Linked DNA regions of Homo sapiens: region 2 is linked to region 1. The links are contacts of gene promoters, found by promoter capture Hi-C in human tissues and cell types (Jung and others, 2019). All regions are on one chromosome and are shown on one strand. The core of a region is centred on a gene start or on the middle of the fragment in contact, and the rest is flanking DNA. Distances in the headings are between cores, read along the strand shown.

Region 1 (2,889 bases), core at 221-2,720:
CTACATTAGGGGCATCGGGCCTCCGGGTCCAGGGAGTTAACACGTGTAAAGGAGCGGCTGACATTTTCTCCCATTCAAATTCTCAGTGCGGAGTCGCTGGGGCCGGCAGGCTGCCTTTCTCTGTGGCGTGATTCACGCCCCCATTCCTCAGCGCGGGGAATTCCTGTTCACAAAGCCGGCTCTGGGTGCCCAGAGGAAACAGGTAGGGCTCAGCTGCCCCAAACTCCAGTGGCTTCCAGGCTGGGGAAACTGAGGCCCAGAGAGGTGATCTGCCCTGGCCAGCCACAGGGCCCACAGGGGTAGGGGGGCTGGGGAGGTGCCACAGCCCAGTCTAGACCCCAGAGGTCCTGATTCTCAGCCTCGATTTCGTTTCTACTTTTCAACATGGGAGGAAATGTTTAAGGGGTTGGGAGGTGGGTGGGGGAGGTTCTCTCCTCCCATCACCAGGGGAGACCTTCCTCGCTGGGCCCCCTCTGGAGCTGAGAAGTTTCTGTTTGGGATTGCGGCCGATGGGCTCACACATTCTGCCTGGAGCGAGAAGCCTTCAGGCGTCTCTAACTCATGCAAAAATCCTTCCTCTCTCTCGGGACGGGGCTTGAAGCTTCTGTCTTGGGGTTGCAGCTGCTTGGAAGGGGCGGAGAGGAGTGGATAGCAAGTTTGTCAGGGCTTCCTCCCTCTGCCCCGCCAGCGCTCTGAGCCGGCCTCGAGCCAACGTGAGGCAGCGAAGCAGCGTCCTTCTTCCTCCGCCTGGGCTCGGGACCTTTCCTGGACCAAGGACAGGAGGAGAGCAAAGTGCTGCCCGCTCCCCATCTAAGCTTGTGATCCGGGGAGGCTGGGATGGGGATGGGGGTATCCCCTTCCCCAGCGCCCCAGTGGAGCGCGCGCAGGGTGGGCGCGCAGGCAGCAGAGCGGCGCGGCCTCTTACCTGAAAAAGTCATTTTTGCAGTAGAGCTTGCCCTCGCGCGAGAAGCACTTCTCCGAGAGGTTGGTTTTGCACTCGCAGCACTGAACACATTTGATGTGCCACGCGCGGTCCAGCACGTTCAGCAGAAAGCGGTCGAGGATGGGCCGCTCGCAACCGGCGCAGTGCACCATCATAGCCCCGCGCCCCGGCGGCTTCGGCCGCCTTGCCCTCCCTTTGGGCCCCTGGCCCTCGGGCCTGCCGGGCCCTCCGCTGCCCTTCGCCTCTTGTCTCAGCAGCTGCAGGGCGAGTCTGGTCCGGACCAAGACTCAGCCGGTCCAGTCCTTGGGCAATCTCTGGCCTGGCGCTGGGCTGCCCGGAGTGGGGTGGTGGGGGGCGGGTGGCGTTCACAACCTCATGCCACGGGCCGCACGCCCCGGCGCCTGTTCCGGGCTTCCCCAGGTATCTCGGGTGGCTGCTGGCCTCGGCGCTGCGGAGCGGCTTTCCCCGGTGGCGGAGGCGCCGGCACTTTCCCCCACTTTCAAGCGGTCCGGATCCTCATCTTTGTCTGGTCGCCGCGTAATTCGCGCATCCTTATTCAGATTTGGTGACGTGGCGCTGCACGTAGGGGGCCCAGCGGCCAATGGGCGCACCGTGGCCATGGCAACCTCTTAAATTTATAGCATATCTAAATTGGCTACAGCGTTGCTGTCCGGACAGAGCAAAAAAAACAAGGCATCAGTATTGTTGAGTATTAGCTTGTACCTGGTTCGGAGGCTAAGTAAGTATTTACCTTCCAGTTTGGGGCTGACGGGGCGGGGGCAGCGCGAAACGAAAATTGCGTCTCTCTTCCTCTCTCTTTCTCCTCACAAATATTTGGGGGTCACGGGTTCCAAGGCCTAGTCCGGGAGGTACCCCTGCCCCCTTCGCCATCCCTGGAACTTGCAGAAGTTGCCCCACGCCCCACACTTCGCTCCCCTTCTCCAGCCCAGCCAGCCCAGATTGGATTCCCCCACCCCCGCGCCCCCTCTGCGCCCTGAAGCTGCGTCAGCGCGGTTCTCCCGGCTCCTGGAGCCGGCCCCGGCTTCTTTTTGTCATACACGGGGCTGGGGCCCAGCCGGGCCTTTCTCATGGAGAGAGCTAGTGGAGACCGCGCGGCCTGGGTAGTTTTCCCCGCCCGGCCGCCGAGCCCAGGCCCAGGCCCAGGGTGGGGAGGCGGGGGAGCAGGAGGGGTGCCATTTGGCCTGGTCCCGAACTCCAGAGTTTCAGGCCTGAGTGCGCTGCTCACGGGGCTCTGAGGGAGATGTGGACAGGGGGAGATTCAGGGTGGACGGGTCTTCCCGCAGACAGCTCGGAGGTGGCACTCACCACGTCTCTCCTTTCCTCGCTGCACCTTCCAGATTCCAGGTCAGCCTATGGGGCACTGTGGTGAGTGGGTCGTACGGCTGAGGCGGGGGACACCAGCGACTATGAGAGCGCTGTTTGTATTCACGCCGTGCGGGCTGGGTGTGCAAGTTCGTCCCCTCATTGGGCGCAGGAGAAGCGGCGCACGTATGTTCCGTGCTCGGCAGGGCGCCCAGAGTGTGAGGAGAGAGAGTGTGTGTGTGTTAAGGGGGAGGGGGGATGTTGGCAGGTGTGCGTGAGGAGGGGGTGTGTGGGTCTGAGTAGGAGAAGGGACCAGGCCTCCTTTCCCCTGGGGCCAGCGTGGCCACCAGGGATCCTAGTTGGGGAAGCCGGGAATGGGCAACCAGGATTTGCCTTTCGCTTCTGGAAAGGGGGCTGAGGGAGTAGGGCCTGGGACCAAGGGCTGGAGCTGGAGGGGTTTGTGCCAGCACTTGGCTGTGAATGTTTGTTTGGGTGTGTTTCCTGAGCTTGTTAGTGTATACTCGCTGTTTGAGAATTCCATTTTTGCATCTGTTTATTGTGTTAGTACCATCAATCCTGTGAGTAAATTTCTGCGTGTGCGTTTTCGTGTGTGCAGATTCGTG
Region 2 (2,889 bases), core at 190-2,689, 1.0 Mb after region 1:
AAGCCACAGGTTATTTTGAGCAAAGTCTGTTTCTCCCCCCATATGCTGATAGATTTCCTCTCATGGTTAAAGCTACACGTTTTTTCACAGAATATTAAAGTTATCAGAATTTGGAAGATAGAAGACCCATGGCAGCAAAGGTTCTGGCCTATTTGCTAGAAGATTTCCACTGGTTTGGGGCAGCTTGCAGGGCCATTGTCCTTTTGTGTTTCTGGCTGATGGGATGGAAAGGGACAGAAAACCAACCTCGGTTCATGCGGTGTTGGTACTGCCTGGAAATATGTATTGTTAGTGCCCTCTAGCGGCCGAGTCTTGGCTGGACATTAAAAGACATTTTTCACCATGAGCTGGGTGTTGAGTGCTTTTAAAAAGCAATTTTGCAACTTGGCTGTGGCCACTGTGCTCTGCTTGGAGTGGCTTTAGACTTCATGATGCTGGTGCTTTCATGTTAAACTGTTTCAAAGCCTCTTGTGGAAGCAAGAGCGTTTGAACTAAACTACAATTTTTGAAAATGGCAACTTGAAATATTTTTACCTCCAACGTAGACCATTCTTTGCCTGCATGCTTCCCTCTGGATTGTCTGTTCCCAAAAACAGCATCTTCATTCAATGAGTAAATGTTTTCTATTACTCAAATTTATTTGGCAAAATAGACTCGGGTAATAGAACATTTTTTTCTTCTTCATACTAATTGTGTGCCTTGCGAAGGCTCTAAAATCATTCCATTTTGACCTAGAAATTCATTTTCTAGGAGTTTTTCCTAAGGAATCACTATGAATATGAACAAGATTGAGGAACAAGCTACTTCTTAGAAGGTTATTCGTAATAAAGAAGAAAACAACCACCTAACGGGCCAACAATACAGACATTGATAAATTATAGTTCATCCAACTCATGGAGTAGGAGGTAGTAATTAAAAACAACATATTATGATTAGAACCGGAAATACCATTTGACCCAGCAATCCCATTACTGGGTATATATCCAAAGGAATATAAATCATTCTCTTATAAATACACATGCACACCCATGTTCATTGCAGCACTATTCACGATAGCAAAGACATAGAAACACCCCAAATGGCCATCAATCAATGACAGACTGAAGAAAGAAATGTGGTACATATATACCACGGAATACTATACAGCCAGAAAAAGGAATGAGAACATGTCCTTTGCAGGGACATAGATGAAGCTGAAAGCCATTATCCTCAGCAAACTAACGCAGGAACAGAAAATCAAACGCCACGTTCTCACTTATAAGTGGGAGCTGAACAATGAGAACACATGGACACAGGGAAGGGAACAATACATGCTGGGGACTGTCGGGGGAGGATGGGGTGGGGTGAGAGCATTAGGAAAAAGAGCTAATGCATGCTGGGCTTAACACCTAAGTGATGGGTTGATAGGTGCAGCAAACCACCATGGCGAACGTTTGCCTATGTAACAAACCCACACATCCTGAACATGTACCCCGGAACTTAAAAAATAAAATTAGATAAATAAATAAATAAAACGTACTATGGTTTAAGAAGATCCTTTTCAAACAGCTGGGGACACTGGTCACTCAAGTGACTTTCCCGGTGTCTCACACAAATCCTCAGTGGTGGTTATGTGGGTGTTGATTTTGCAGTAGGTCATTGAGCTACACATTTTCTGAATATATGTATTTATAATTTTTAAAGAATATTTTTTATAGTTTAAAAGAAGATTTAAAAAAAAAATCAAAGAGACCAGGTATTCTAATCCTTAATTTAGCTCTGTTTCCCACACTAGTCTACTCCTTGGAGGAACGAAGGCACAAAAGAGAAAAGATGGAATTATGGTCTCTGGGAACTAGATTTTAAAATTGCATTTAAGAAATACCTAATGTAGACGACGGGTTGATGGGTGCGACAAACCACCATGGCACGTGTATACCTATGTAACAAACCTGCACGTTCTGCACATGTATCCCAGAACTTAAAGTATAATTTTAAAAAATTGCATATAGAACATCCCATTGGTGGGACTGGATTTGTTTGCAAATGGTCTTGTCAGTGGTGAAGTGGAAGAGAATGTGGAGCCCCACTCAAATGAAGTTTGCAACTTGTCAGCAGATCTGGAAAAACAATACAGTTAAAATTCTTGACTCTCTGGAGATAGGAAATTATTAATAAATTTCACGAATGCATATTTCCTTATTGCCATTACAGTTGTGAGGGATGGCTGTATCTTTTGCTGTTATTTTTAAACCCCATAGAATATTTGTAGAAAAACAATTTATCTAAATGTATGAGGTAGTTTATAACTTCTCTACATTTCCATGTCAGAAGCAAAGAGATAAATAGTTAATTCTGAGTTACGTTTAATAAGTATTCATTTGTATCTCTTCACCAGAGACGAGAGAAAAGCAGCTTAGTCCCAGACCTCAAGGTACCCCCGAATGGCTGGGAGGAAGTTTGACATCCTTGAAAAAAAATAGAGAGCAACATAAGGCAAGTGAATGCGGTGTACAGTATAAGCATTATAATGCTCTAAGGAATAAAATCAAGTGTCAAGATGCATAGTTTATAGTAAGGAGATATTGCGTCAGGCTAATTCGGATATAAATCTGTATGAACATGTGATCTTAAATCTCTATGGCTCCACTTTATCTACAAAATGAGAATAATATTGCTACTTACTATTGTAAAGATTGAATGCACATTGTGCTTCCATGTTTATTGCAGCACTATTCACGACCACCAAAATTTGAAGCAACTTAAGCATCTGCTAACAAACGAATGGATAAAGAAAATGTGGTACACATACATGATGGAGTACTATTCAGCCACAAAAAAGAATGAGATCCTGTCATTTGCACCAACATGGATGGAACTGGAGATCATTATATTAAGTGAAATGAGCCA

The links. The method cuts DNA at HindIII sites, captures the fragments that hold promoters and counts their contacts. A contact is called where the count stands out against the background at its distance.
Region 2: a contact is called between a fragment that was not itself captured here and the fragment with the promoter of LHX5 in region 1, in 1 of the 25 tissues and cell types used here (dorsolateral prefrontal cortex).

Annotation. Positions count from the first base shown.
Region 1 is chr12:113,470,401-113,473,289 of GRCh38, forward strand. It overlaps LHX5 (LIM homeobox 5), which reads right to left and starts at 1,471. Exons shown (of 5, transcript NM_022363.3): 1 at 926-1,471. The coding sequence starts at 1,098. LHX5-AS1 (LHX5 antisense RNA 1) reads left to right here and starts at 1,603. Exons shown (of 2, transcript NR_126425.1): 1 at 1,603-1,682. RefSeq lists an enhancer at 553-1,353. The HindIII fragment of the contact is 9,096 bases long and covers 1-2,889 here.
Region 2 is chr12:114,508,421-114,511,309 of GRCh38, forward strand. No RefSeq gene overlaps it. Among named protein-coding and RNA genes, the nearest start is that of TBX5-AS1, 100 kb to the left of the region's middle. The HindIII fragment of the contact is 9,535 bases long and covers 1-2,889 here.